Regions from separate parts of the Homo sapiens genome. Here all the other regions are linked to region 3. The links are contacts of gene promoters, found by promoter capture Hi-C in blood cells and fetal thymus (Javierre and others, 2016). All regions are on one chromosome and are shown on one strand. Each heading gives the region's core, a stretch centred on a gene start or on the middle of the fragment in contact. The rest is flanking DNA. Distances are from core to core; before and after follow the strand shown.

Evidence for each region. The method cuts DNA at HindIII sites, captures the fragments that hold promoters and counts their contacts. A CHiCAGO score of 5 or more calls a contact.
Region 1: a fragment that was not itself captured here is called in contact with the fragment with the promoter of TMEM184A in region 3 in 2 of 17 cell types (monocytes and M0 macrophages); the score reaches 5.5 in monocytes.
Region 2: a contact is called between a fragment that was not itself captured here and the fragment with the promoter of TMEM184A in region 3, in 1 of 17 cell types (M0 macrophages). The highest score is 5.9, in M0 macrophages.

The regions. Positions count from the first base shown.
Region 1 is chr7:2,323,661-2,328,303 of GRCh38, reverse strand. It overlaps a transcript of SNX8 not described here. Among named protein-coding and RNA genes, the nearest start is that of SNX8, 12 kb to the right of the region's middle. The HindIII fragment of the contact is 1,400 bases long and covers 1,567-2,966 here.
Region 2 is chr7:2,195,682-2,200,261 of GRCh38, reverse strand. The region is part of intron 10 of MAD1L1 (mitotic arrest deficient 1 like 1); the gene reads left to right. LOC105375126 (a long non-coding RNA gene) reads right to left here and starts at 544. Exons shown (of 3, transcript XR_001745062.3): 1 at 469-544. RefSeq lists an enhancer at 4,534-4,580. The HindIII fragment of the contact is 6,509 bases long and covers 1-4,580 here.
Region 3 is chr7:1,553,497-1,557,907 of GRCh38, reverse strand. TMEM184A (transmembrane protein 184A) reads left to right here and starts at 1,703. Exons shown (of 9, transcript NM_001097620.2): 1 at 1,703-1,794; 2 at 2,424-2,642. The coding sequence starts at 2,424. RefSeq lists silencers at 1,428-1,517, 1,558-1,627, 2,995-3,177 and enhancers at 1,285-2,084, 2,221-2,515, 2,085-2,885. The HindIII fragment of the contact is 30,451 bases long and covers 1-4,411 here.

The sequences.
Region 1 (4,643 bases), core at 1,017-3,516, 770 kb before region 3:
AGGTGGATCACTTGAAGTCAGGAGTTTGAGACTAGCCTGCCTGGCCAGCGTGGAGAAACCCCTGTCTCTACTAAAAACAGAAAAATTAGCCAGGCGTGGTGACACGTGCCTGTAGTCCCAGCTACTTGGGAGGCTGAGGCAGGAGAATCACTTGAATCCTTGAAAGGCAGAGGTTGCAGTGAGCTGAGATCATGTCACAACACTCCAGCCTGGGTGACAGAGTGAGTCTCCATCTCAAAACAAACAAACAAATAAAATCAAAATAAAAAAATAGGTTGGACATGGTGGTGCGCACCTGTGGTCCCAGCTATGTGGGAAGCTGGGACAGGAGGGTCCGTTGAGCCCAGCAGGTCCAGAAAGTTGCAGTGAGCCATGATCGTGCCGCTGCACTCCAGCCTGGGTGACAAATGGGGACCTTGTTTCGAAAAGAAAAAAAAAGGAAATAAGAAAAAGAAAATGCTGGCCAGGCGCGGTGGCTCACGCCTGTCAATCCCAGCACTTTGGGAGGCCAAGGCGGGCGGATCACGAGGTCAGGAGATAGAGACCATCCTGGCTAACACGGTGAAACCCCGTCTCTACTTAAAATACAAAAAATTAGGCCGGGTGCGATGGCTCACGCCTGTAATCCCAGCACTTTGGGAGGCCGAGGCGGGCGGATCATGAGGTCAGGAGATCGAGACCATCCTGGCTAACACAGTGAAACCCCATCTCTACTAAAAACACAAAAAATTAGCCGGGCATGGTGGCGGGCACATGTAGTCCCAGCGACTCTGGAGGCTGAGGCAGGAGAATGGCATGAACCAGAGATGCGGAGCTTGCAGTGAGCCGAGATCGCGCCACTGCACTCCAGCCTGGGCGACAGAGCGAGACTCCGTTTCCAAAAAAAAAATAAAAAAATTAGCCAGGCATGGTGGTGGGCGCCTGTAGTCCCAGCTACTTGGGAGGCTTAGGCAGGAGAATGGCGTGAACCCAGGATGCGGAGCTTGCAGTGAGCCGAGATTGCACCACAGCACTCCAGCCTGGGCAACAGAGCCAGACTCTGTCTCAAAACAAAAAAGAAAATAAAAGGAAAAAGGAAATGCCTTGTGAAGACAGACATACAAGGAGAAGGCAGCTGTGTGATGACAGAGGCAGAGACTGAGGTGACGTGTTCACAAACCAGGAACCCCCTAGGAGACAAACACCAGAAGCTGGAAGAAGCAAGAAGGAATCCTCCCCTATGAGTTTCAGAGACAGCGTGGCCCTGCCGGCAACTTGATTTCAGACTTCTAGCCTCAAGCACTCTGAGACAATATGTTTCTGTTGTTTCAAGCCACCAAGTTCGTAATATTTTTTAAAAAATAATTTTTATATTATCTTTTGTAGAGGCAGGGTTTTGCCATTTTGCCAAGGCTGGTCTCGAACTTATGAGCTCAAGTGATCTGCCTGCCTCGGCCTCCCAAAGTGCTGGGATTATAGGTGTGAGCCACTGTGCCCAGCCCCTGGCGATACTTTTCTATGGCACCCCAGGGAAACTAATATATATGGTGAATTACCTTGATTTATTTTGAAATATTAAACCAAGCTTGCATTTCATTTGGTCACAACATTTTATCCCTTTAATTTATTTAATTCAATTAATTATTATTATTTTTTTTTGAGATGGAGTGAGACTCTGTCGCCCAGGCTGGAGTGCAGTGGCGTGATCTCGGCTCACTGCAAGCTCTGCCTCCTGGGTTCAAGCCATTCTCCTGCCTCAGCCTCCCGAGTAGCTGGGACTACAGACTCCCGCCACCACGCCCGGCTAATTTTTTTGTATTTTTAGTAGAGACGGGGTTTCACCGCGTTAGCCAGGATGGTCTTGATCTCCTGACCTCGTGATCTGCCCGCCTTGGCCTTCCAAAGTGCTGGGATTACAGGCGTGAGCCACCGTGCCCGGCCCCTTTTATTTTATTTATTAAGAGACAGGGTCTCACTCTCTTGCTAGGCTGGAGTTCAGTGGCATGATCACAGCTCACTGCAACCTCCGCCTCCCTGGTTCGAGCGATCCTCTTGCCTCAGCCTCCCAAGTAACTAGGATCACAGACATGTGCCACCATGCCTGGCTAATTTGTGTATTTTTTGTAGAGACAGGGGTCTCACTATTTTGCCCAGGCTGGTCTTGAACTCCTGAATTCCTCCCAACTCAGCCTCCCACAGTGCTGGGATTATAGGCATGAGCCACCGTGCCTGGCTGATTTATCTCTTTCCTCTTACATTTACTATAAGCAGCAAGAAAAAACCAAGCCTCACTTTCAATACTTTGCTTGGAAGTCTTCTTAGTTAAATATCCAAGTTTATAATTTATAAGTTTGGCTTTGCATATAATTCAAAGATACATTCCCGCTAAGATTTCTGAGACTACATAATGGGGTCCCCCTTTCTCCAGTTTCCAAGAACACATTCCTGTTACCTTCTTTTATTTTTTTATTTTTATTTAAAAAAATTTTTTTTGAGACAGAGTCTTGCTCTGTTGCCGAGGCTGGGGTGCAGTGGCACGATCTTGGCTCACTGCAGTCTCCGCCTCCCAAGTTCAAGCAATTCTCATGCCTCAGCTCCTGAGTAGCTGGGACTACAGGCGCTTGCCAACACACCCAGCTAATTTTTTGTATATATATTTTGTAGAGACGGGGTTTTGCCATGTTGCCCAAGCTGGTCTCAAATTCCTGAGCTCAAGCAATCCGCCCACCTCAGCCTCCCAAAGTGCTGAGATTACAGGCATGAGCCACCCCACCTGGCCTGATATTCCTCATTACATTCTGAGCCCTCATCAGCAGCACCTTTAACGTCTGTATTGTTACCAAGAGTCTGTTTGTGACCATTTAGGCATCCTCCCAGATGATTTAGGTTTTCTATACCACGTTCCTCATTTCCTTCTAAAAGTCCTCACTAGCAGAGTTTTTAACTTCCCTATTTCTAGTAACAACCAATTCCAGGAAACCTAAGCTTTTTCTGTATCCACCTCAAAACTTTTCCACTGCCGCTGGCGTGATGGTGCATGCCTACAGTCCCAGCACTTTGGGAGGCTGGGGCAGGAAGATTGCTTGAGCCCAGGAGATTAATGCTGCAGTGAGCTCTGATTGCACCACTGTGCCCTAGCCTAGTCAAGAGAGCAAAACTCTGTCTCTAAAAAAATTTTTTTATAAAAGCAGTGGGCCAGGCATGGTGGCTCATGCCTGTAATCCTGGCACTTTGGGAGGCCAAGTCAGGAGGATAGCTTGAGACTGTCCTTGAGACTGGCCTGGGCAATACAGTGAGACACCATTCTACAAAAAATAAATAGCCTGTAGCTGGGACTACAGGCGTGTGCCACCATGCCTGGCTACATGGCCAATGCCTGCAGTCCCAGCTACGCAGCAGGCTGAGGAAGGAGGATCTCTTGTACCCAGGAGACGGAGGCTGCAGTGAGCCATGATCCTACCACTGCACTCCGGCCTGGGTGTGATAGCAAGACCCTGTCTCAAAAAATTAAAAAAAGGAAGAGTGTTGAGAAGAAATTGGTAGCTTTATAACACAGGGCAAATGCCCACAAGGGTTGTGAGAATGGTGTCTTGCAGCCTAGGCTAGGATCTCAGCTCTGGGATCTTAGGGTGTTGAACTTTTCTGGTCTTGGTTGCCTGCAAAGTACTGATCATACCACTTCCTAAATTTTTTTTATTCTTAGTTTATTTTTATTTTTATTTTTTTGAAAAATAGGTCAGTCACAGTGGCTCACTCTTGTAATCCTAGCACTTTAGGAGGCTGAGGTGGGCAGATTGCCTGAGCTCAGGAGTTCGAGACCACCCTGGGCAACATGGTGAAACCCTGTCTCTACTAAAATACAAAAAATTAGCCAGGCGTGGTGGCGCATGCCTGTAATCCCAGCTACTTGGGAGGCTGAGGCAGGAGAATTGTTTGAACCTGGGAGGTGGAGGTTGTAGTGAGCCAAGATCACACCACTGCACTCTAGCCTGGACGACACAGTGAAACTCTGTCTCAAAAAAAAAAAAAAAGAAAGAAAGAAAATAGAGATGGGGTGTCACTACGTTGCCCAGGCTGGTTTTGAATTCCTGGGCTCAAGTAACCCTCCTGCCTTGGCCTCTCAAAGTGCTATGATTACAGACGTGAGCCACTGCCCCCGGCCAGGATGAGATACATTCTTTTTTTATAAATTCTTTTTTTTTTGAGATGGAGTCTTGCCCTTGCCACCCCAGGCTGGAGTACAGTGGCGTGATCTCAGCTCACTGCAACCTCTGCCTCCCAGGTTCAAGCGATTATCCTGCCTCAGCCTCCCAAGTAGCTGGGACTAGAAGCATGCACCACCATGCCCAGCTTATTTTTGTATTTTTAGTAGAGACGGGGTTTTACCATGTTGGCTAGGCTGGTCTCGAACTCTTGATCTCAGGTGATCCACCTGAGGTTGCAGTGAGCCGAGATGGTGCCACTGCACTCAAGCCTGGGCAACAGAGCAAGAGTCGGTCTCAAAACAAAAACAAAAAACCAAGAAGACTCAGTTCCTAGTACGCATTCAATACGTGTTAGCGTGGTTAGTGTTTGGTGCTGTCCTGGCTTCTGGCGTGCCAGGCACGTGGTAGTACTGCACTTCTGGTCCTTCTGAGGTTGAGCGAGACCACATCACTGGTCCT
Region 2 (4,580 bases), core at 636-3,135, 640 kb before region 3:
GTGAACGCAAGTGTCCACCCTGCATTCCAGGGTGGCAGGCGGCCCGGGGCGGGTGTGGGGTGGTTGGGTGGGCGCCCCGCGTGCTATGTTAGCGTAGGGTGGTGCACACCTGGCCGGCAGGCCTTGGTCCCGCTCTTCACCCTCCACCTGTCGTGGGTGCGCCCCGGGAGGGGTGGAGGATGGAGGGCAGGCGTGGGAAGAGCTCTGAGACCCTTGGCTTCATGGAGAGTGTTGGGCAGTTACCCCTCCCTTGCCCTCGGGCCTTTGTGAGTGTGGCTTCCTGGAACTCTGGGGGATTTGTCACCAGTGACTGCAGGGGGCTCTCCCATCCCTTTCATCCAGGCTTCACTGTCTGCCCTAAGCTGGGGACTGGTCCAGCTGACCTGGATGGTGCGGAGTGTGGGCCCTGCTGGCCAGCATGGCGTTGGGAAGCACCTAGGTGGGTGGTGGGTTGGGTTGTGGCCTTACCGCGGAGTCTGGGCTGCAGCTGAGAAAGCCGTCTCCTAGGACCAGGAATCTGGGTTTGGGAGGCTGGAGGTCTTGGCCCAGCAGTTCAGTGGCTGCCCGGTGTGTCTGCCTGGCCTGGCCCTCGTCTGGTTTCCGTTGTCTGGGAGGCACCCCTGCCCGTGCCAGGCGGGGCACTGCGGGGGCGCGGATGCGGAGTGGAAGACTGCTGATTTAGGAATCGAAACTCCAGGGACATCCGTGTAGCAGAGTGATTCTAAGATGATTAAGAAAACCATCAATGATTTAAAGAAAGTGTTCACTGCAGTCCTTATTGAGCGGTTTGCCGCGTGCAGGGCATGTGGGGGTGGCGCACCAGGCTGCAGGCGCCCTTCATGACGGCAGGCAGGGGACCTCCTAGGAGTCTTGGCTGTGACACGTGAGGTATGAAGGCCAGAAAGGTGAACGTGTGGAATCTGTGACCCAGAAGTAACAAACTCCTTTCTTGGAGAGCAGTTAGGTATTCCATTCCTTAGTCCATATGCCAACATTTAAAAAGGCCAAAACCAGAGGCCTAGAAAATGTATCTGGAAGTTGCAGTGAGACCGTTTTTGATCATTGTGGCCTTCCTGGGGCTCAGTTTCCTCGCTTTGCAAATGCCATTTTGGCAGGGATCTGCTGTGGGGCATCTCCGTGCAGGTGGAGCTGGAGTTGCGCATCTTTCTCAGGCTGGCATCATACAGGCCCCAGTGCACTCTGGCAGGGAGGGGCAGCCCCCTCCTGGATAGCCCCGCCCAAGGCCGGGAGGACTGTGAAGGGGGGATCCCACTGCCTGACCTCAGCCTGTCGGGCCCCACAGCGCGTCTCTCTGTGGACTGGTCGCCGGCTTCCTGTGGCCTGTGTGTCCTCCGAGTGGCTGGAGCTTTGGAACCCTATTCTGTAGCTTGGAGCTCCTGAGCCTCAAAGGGCAGGGGCCTGGTTCCTTGCCCATCCTTGCCCAGCCTGATGGCCTGTGCTTGTGGACTGTACATGGGCACCTGCTTTAACACCTGGAGGAGTAGGGGCTACCAAGAGCATGTGGCTCTGGGCCTCCCTGGGAGAGTCACTCAGCGGCAGGAGAACTGAGTGGGACACATCAGGGAGTGTCTGTCTCATGGACGCCTGTTGGCCTGCAGCCTGGAGAGGGGGCCTGAAGTGTGTGTTCCATGCTCTTGACCCCCAGGAAGCACTCGCCTCTGTTGAAAGCCTCGTGCCGCAGAGCGCGATTGCTGTCCCGGGTGGACGGCCATCACGGGCTCCTTGCTCCGGCGATGCCAGCGCTCCTGGTGTTGTGTGTGGCTGGCTCCCCCTTGTCTCAGCCCTGGGCTTAGAGCAGGCCAGGTGCTCAGGCAGTGGTTTTGTTGCTTGAAGGGGGGTGTGTACCTGGCTGCAGCCTGTGGAGAGCGTGAGTGGCTGGCAGAAGCAAAGGCGGGCTCTTGGGAGATGAGAGCAGGCAGCCGGCCTGGAGGCTTCCATGGGGCTGGTCAGCTCCTGCTGGCTCTTCCTGGCACAAATCCACGCTGGGCTGGGTGCCTTGGCTCACACCTGTAATCCCAGCACTTTGGGAGCCTGAAGTGGGAGGATCGCTTGAGCCTGGGAGTTCAAGACCAGCCTGGGCAACACTGTGAGACCCTATCTCTATTTTTAAAAATAAAAATATAAAGATAACCCTTCCTCCAAAAAAAAAAAAAAAAACCCAAACTCATGGTGGACCTTGGGATGAGCGGGGGCGCTTGTGGGGCAGAACTGGGTGTGGTTGCCCCGTCCTGGGCCTGTTCCCAGGCCTGCTCTTAGAGGAGGGGCTGATGGGCCCTGTGGGTGCAGGGAGATGGGGTCAGTCACAGGCTGGGGCCTGGGGGCTGGGACCTGGGGGCTGGGACCCGGGGGCTAGGACCAGTTTTGGCTCTCAGGCAGGGAGGGGTTGTGAACTCTGTTTTGGGAATGTGTGTTTGAAGTGTCAGTGATGTAGCCAGAAGGAGGTGTCAGACAGCAGCCGATGTCAGGCCTGCATGGCTCCTAGAGGAGCCCTAGGGCTGGCCTGCCCAGTGAGGGGCAGGGATGAGCCGGCCTAGGGGAGTGGCAGAGCCAGAGGAGCAGACAGCTGGCCCGAGTCTGGAGGGATTTTGGCGTTTGCAGGTGGCTTTGAGCCTGAGGGCCAGTGCCTCACCGGGTCAGAGAGCTCTGCAGCCCGCCAGTCCTGGTCGTGCCTGTGTCCGAGCTTGGGCCCGTGTGCAGGGAGAAGGTGGCTGTGCAGTGCACGTCGTGTGTACCAGGCGTCGGCGGAGTGATGCGTGGGTCGGGGCGGGAGATGAGAGGAGGAGTGAGGAGAGGCTAGAAGCCTCCAGAGCAGTGGGGTTTCTTCCTCTTCTTCACTGGTGAGTGCTTCTTGAACACATAGGTGTGCAGGCCTGGTGCTGGGTGCTGGGGATACAGCTATAAGTCAGGGGCTGTTTTCCAGTCCTCTCAGATCTAGCCGGGCATATGTCTGCTAGGTCAAGCGTGGCTCCTGAAGAGATGACACTTGAGAGGCTGGCAGCATGTTCCAGATAGGGTGGGTGCTGGCAGCACACAGGTTGGCCAGATGCTGCGTGTTCGGACAGTGTTGTGTGGCTCCAGCTGGTTCTAACCACAGTTCTCCTGGGATGTGGCAGAAGCTGGACAGGTTGGCAGGGATCTGTCCTGTCCTGAGGGTGGTTTGGACCGCGTCCTGCAGGTCACAGGAGCCGCAGAAGGTCTTCATCAGGGAGGAGCACATCCGCCAATTGTGAAGGGGCCTCTTTCCTCACTGAATTCGCAGGGCGAGGACCTGGCGCCTTGGCAGGACCCTGCTGGTGGAAGTCCCTGGGGCTGTCTGACCCGCTGCAGGTTTCAGCAGCCCCGAAGTGTGGGGAGGGTGGGCGGTGTTTCCTGTTGTCAGTTGAGAGCCTCATGGAGTAGGAGCCGTGGAGTCAGCCGCGTTGTAGTGAGAGTTAGAATTGAGCCGCACTGTTCCTGTGAGCAGGGAGCCCGAGGCCTTCTGACTTCTGAAGAGGGTTCGTGTTGAAGGCCAGACTCTCCCTGTTTTTCTGTTTCCTCTTCAGGTGAATGCCTGTTCCTTTGTGACCACAGTGTCTGTGGGTAGCACTGTGATTTTGGAGACGCTCGTTTGTTTGTTCATCTGAACATTTATTTGGAGACCTGCCGTTTGCCAGGCTTTGGGCTGGCTCTGGCGACGCTGTGACGAGCACAGCACAGTCTGCCCACGTAGTGCACACACACAGACAGCTTTAAACAATGAAAACAACAGGGGTGCCTCCTCAGATGCAATCTTTTGGAAGATGCCGCAGGAGCGTTTTGCGGGAGTATCTTAGTTGGAGACGGCCTTGTTGGATATGAATGACGCTGGTGGGAATGAAGGCCAGACGTTTTCCCTGGTTTGGAAACAGGTGGCTTACAAGAGTTTCTAGAGTTTATTTGTTTAAAGACAGAGCCTGTTCTCAAGAGGGTCTTCACTTTGCTGGCAGGATGGCACTGTTGACGGTGGTGGTTGGCTCTGGAGAGCTGCTGTGTAGTTGACAAAGCCTGTTGATAATCAGCGTCTCATTCGTTCTTCCTCAGAACCCTGTGGACTAAGCTGGGTTCTGGGAGGGGCTGACTGGCCCAAGGGCATCCAGTGAATTTGTGGCCCTGTTGCCGGAATGCTTGGCTGATCCTGGAGTATGGTGAGCTGTGCCCTCAATAACCTCCATCCATCTGGCTGGCCACATGGTGCCATGCAGCTGGATCCTGCATTTTTGTGAGCTGATCAGCCCGATGCTGGCACTGAAAGGATTCTGTTGGGAGCTGCCATCCATTTAGCCTGAGCGGAACTCAGCACATGTGCGGGCATGAAGCCCATCAGCTGATAGCTTCTTTTTCAGACCTGATGGCTCCCAGCCGAACTTTGGCAAGAAGGACCTACCAGCCTGCTGGAGGGCTGACCTGCCTGCCTTTGCTGGGAGCCAAGCACCTCCTGGCAGTTCTGGGATTTGGTTTTCAGTGGGAGGAGGCTCTCTGCAAGGTAGAGTAAGAGCAGTAATTACTTGGGAGAGGAAGCGTTTAACTTCTGAGGCTGCAAC
Region 3 (4,411 bases), core at 454-2,953:
AGGCGGGCCTGAGAGCTGGGCACGACTTCCTGAGCTTGTTCCCCACCTGGGAGCCTCCCTGGAGGGACAGTGTCAGTGGAGGAGTTGGGAAAAGCAGGCAGGGTGTCCCAGGGAAGGATGGGCCTCAGCCCGGGCCCCTCACGGACCCCTCAAGGATGCTGGACGCGTTGATGCGCCTCTCGTTCCCATCTCTAAAAGGGGAACAGGCCGGACGTGGTGGCTCAAACCTGTAATCCCAGCACTTTGGGAGGCTGAGGCGGGCAGATCACCTGAGGTCAGGAGTTCAAGCCCAGCCTGGCCAACGTGGTGAAACCCCGTCTTTACTAAAAATACAAAAATTAGCTAGGTGTGGTGGTGGGCGCCTGTAATCCCAGCTACTCGGGAGGCTGAGGCAGGAGAATCACTTGAACCCAGGAGGCGGAGGTTGCAGTGAGCCGAGATCGCGCCATTGTACTCCAGCCTGGCGACAGAGCGAGGCTCCGTCTCAAAAAATAAATTAATTAAAAATAAAAGGGGAACAGTGGCTCCAGTCATTCCAGCCTCAACCCCTTGAGCCCTGTTGCTCAGGGCTGTGGGAGGGTAGGAGATATGAAGGACAAGGAGTGTGTGGATCCGTTGCGGGCATGGAGCGGGACTTGGTAATGGTGGCCCCAGCGGCATGAGCCCAAGCGTAACCAGAACAGGACAAGAGGTGGGCTGAGGGCCCACATCCCTCTCCCAGGAGCCGGGGTGAGTGAGTTTTTTCTCCACAGGGGCCTCTGCATGGGGGTGACAGGGACCCTCAGGGCCCCGCAACCCCTTGCCAGACCCCAAAGGGTCCAGGGACTGGGCTGTCACTCCCCCTCTCCTGCCTTGATCCACAAAAACCAGAAATATTTCCTTTTTTTTTTTTTTTTTTTTTTGGACACAGAGTCTCCCTCTGTCCCCAGGCTGGAGTGCAGTGGTGTGATCTCAGCTTACTGCAACCTCCGCCTTCTGAGTTCAAGCGATTCTCCTGTCTCAGCCTCTTGAGTATCTGGAATTACAGGTGCACGCTGCCACACCTAGCTAATTTTTGCGTATTTCGTAGAGACGGCGTTTCACCATGTTGGCCAGGCTGGTCTCGAACTCCTGACCTCAAGTGATCCACCCACCTTGGCCTCCCAAAGTGTGGGGATGACAGGCGTGAGCCACCACGCCCGGCCCAGAAAACAAATGTTTTCAACTCATCTCTTGGGGCGTGGATTTTTTTTTTAATTCAGATGAAATTCACATAACATCAATTTACCCAGGTTTAAGTGAACGATTCGGTGGCGGTAAGTATATCCACAGTGCTGTGTGCCTGCCGCCTCTACCTCATTTCAGGACTCCTGTCACCCCCCAGAGAAACCCTGTACCATTAGCTCTCCACCCCTCCTCCTGCAGCCCGGCCCTCCTTGGCCTGCCGCAGACCTCTCCCACGTGTCCCCACCAGGTGGCAGCTGCCTGGCCGTCTGGCATAGGCAGGTGAGGGCGCCAGGCGGCCAGCAGGTTCCTGGGAGCCAGCTGCCACCCAGCAAACAACCGGGAGGATAGGGTGTCAGCCGTGGGAGGGGACAGGAGGGGACGGGCCTGCAGCCTGGGGCCCAGGTGGGCCACTGGGGACGTGAGGCACTGGCCGCCCCGCCCCAGCCTGGCACAGCCCTTCAGATCCTGGCCTTGCCGCACCCACAGTGGGGCCTCCAGTTGGGGCCACGTGGCCATGAGAATGACCAGCTAGGCTTCCCTGGAGGCCAGGCCTCCCTGGACTGGGCCAGGTGCTTCCTGCCAGCAAAGGTAGAGCTGGGCCCTGTGACCGCAGACCAGAGGGAGAGGAGGAGGCTGGACTGGGCTGCGAGTGTGGGAGAGGGTGGACTCAGGGCCCCAGCAGGTTAGTGGGAGATGGAACAGGCACCCAGGGCTGCCAAGAACCCCAGCAAAGCCGGGCTCCCAGGTGGGTGGACAGGTCCCAGAGCCAGTGAGGGCCGGCTCCTCCCATGAGGGTGGCTGCACACCCCCTCCTGCCGGGGCAGGCAGTGCTGGTCTGCGCCCGCTCCCCAGCCCTCCCGGGCAGGCAGGGCGGCAGGGGTTCCCCCTCTTCTGCCCCACTGGAAGACGGTCTTTGTCCCCTAAGAAGCAGGCTCCCTGCAAGCCTGAGACTCGGAGTTGGAAGCTGGTTTTACAAGGGGGAATTGAGGTGGGACCCTCAGGTCGCAGGTGGTTGATGGGTGAGCTTCGATGGCTGAGCTCGGAGCAGGGAGGGAGCCGGGCCTGGCGCTGGTGTCCGTGTGGGGGGTGCGGCCTGGTGGGTGGCTCAGCCTCAGCTCCCGTCTCACTGTCTCCTCCCTCCCCCGCTGCTTCCTGCTGCCGGGAGCCAGTACCTTTGCCCTCACTCCTCCCGGTGTGTGTCCTCCCTCCCTCTGCAGATGAGTAATGTCTCAGGGATCCTGGAGACAGCCGGCGTCCCCCTGGTGTCAGCGAACTGGCCGCAGCCCAGCCCCCCACCGGCTGTGCCAGCTGGGCCGCAGATGGACCACATGGGGAACAGCTCCCAGGGGGCCCCCTGGCTCTTCCTCACCTCCGCACTGGCCCGAGGCGTCTCGGGGATCTTCGTGTGGACTGCCCTGGTGCTCACCTGCCACCAGGTAAGCCCTTCCGCCCCCGAGCCTCCTTCAGGACCTTGGTCTCCACAGGACGTGGCCGTGGCTCAGCCCGGTCCCCCTGGGTGCCGCTGCTATAGACGCTGTCAGAAGTGGGATCGGCCAGGGCACGGGGGAGGGGATGAGCTTCCCCAGGATGTGGCATGTGGGAGCTGGGCCTGAAAATGGGGAGATCTCTGCCAGGCTGAGGGCAGAGCGCCCACCGGGCACCCCTGGCTATTTCACAGGCTCGTCACTCGGCTCACTGAGGTCTGCAGTGTGGTCCCATTTCACAGACAAGAAGACTGAGTCTCAGAGAGACCAGAGGTCTTTCCCAGGCTCACATAGCTGGAAAGGGGAAGGGGCCTTCTCCTTCCAGAGGCGTGACACCCTGGAGAAGGCTGGTGGGAGGTTGGCAGGGGGTTGGACTTTGCTCTGTAGGGAGCTGGGGAGCAAAGGTCACAGCTTGTTAGAGGGACCGGGACTCCTGTGCAGGAGATGGGCGAGAAGCAACTTCCCCAAGCCCGAAGCCACACACAGCCCCCGACCCGGAGCAGTCCCCAGGTGGGAACAGAACAGCCCCCAGGTAGAGAAGCGGCCAGGCGCTGTGGCAAGGAAGGGCCAGGCAGGGGCAAGGAGGAAGTGGTGCCCGAGGGCAGGGGCTGGGCAGAGAGGGCAGGGAGTCAGGGACAGGACCCTCCTGAGAGACTCAGATACACAGAGAGGCCAGGGCGGTGTGCGCAGGGGTGGGGTGGGAGTGCGTGTGTAGGCCCGCGAGGGCCACACGGCTGCAGGGATTTGTCCAGAGCCCTTGACCCCAGTGCGGTGAGGTGGCTTTCAGGGGGTGCTGGGAGCCCAGGAAGGCTGTGGAGGGCTGGGCTGAGGGCAGAGCTGCTTCCCGGGTGCACGGGGCACTGGTGTAGGGAATGGATCTGTAGGTGAGCTGGGGCAGGGGGCCATCAGGAGACTGGCAGGCAGGGACACCGGTGGCCACAAGTCTCCGAGGGAGCATCTCAGTGACAGTTTATTAACTGCTTATTAGCCGGGCATGGGGGCCTGCACTGTTAGTCCCAGCTACTTGGGAGGCTGAGATGGGAGGATCGCTTGAGCCCAGTTCAAGGTTGCAGTGAGCTGTGAACAGATAACCAGAACCCACGGTAGACGTGTATGAGTGTGGCCTGGAGTGTGCAGAGCCGCGGAGGCAGTGCCGAGGCAGGCCCTTCCTGTAAGGCCATCAGAGAGGGCTTCCCGGAGGAGGCCGTCTTTCCGCTGTAATCCTGGGAACCGGCTGTGTGTGCGCGGCTGTAGTGTGGCTTTAGCTTCATGGGGCCTCGCAGTCAAGACAGGGCTCATGGAGACCCCTTGGGCTGGAGTTCAGGCCCTGTCCCACCCCTGAGCCCACCGCCAGAGTCACCCTTGAGTGAGGAGTCCCAGGCAGGACACAGAGTGGCTGGATCCCCCTCACTTTATACATGGGAGGACCGAGGCCGGAGAGGACAGTGGCTTGTCAAGGTCACCCAGCCAGGCAGCGCCAGCCCCGGGAGAGGTCTCCTGATGGCTGGTCATGCCGTCCCTCCCAGGGACCATCGGGGAGCGTGTGACTGATAAGAGTCTGTTCCTGCCTCCAACCTCCCCCAACTCCCTGAGCTGCACCCCAAGCGGCCAGGTGCACGTAGCCTCTGCTCGCCCACCGCCACGCATGCACCTCCTCCAGAAGGCCTTCCCCAGGAGCCCCTGTGCGCCCAGCTCCCAGGCTCGGCTGACCCTGTCTCAAA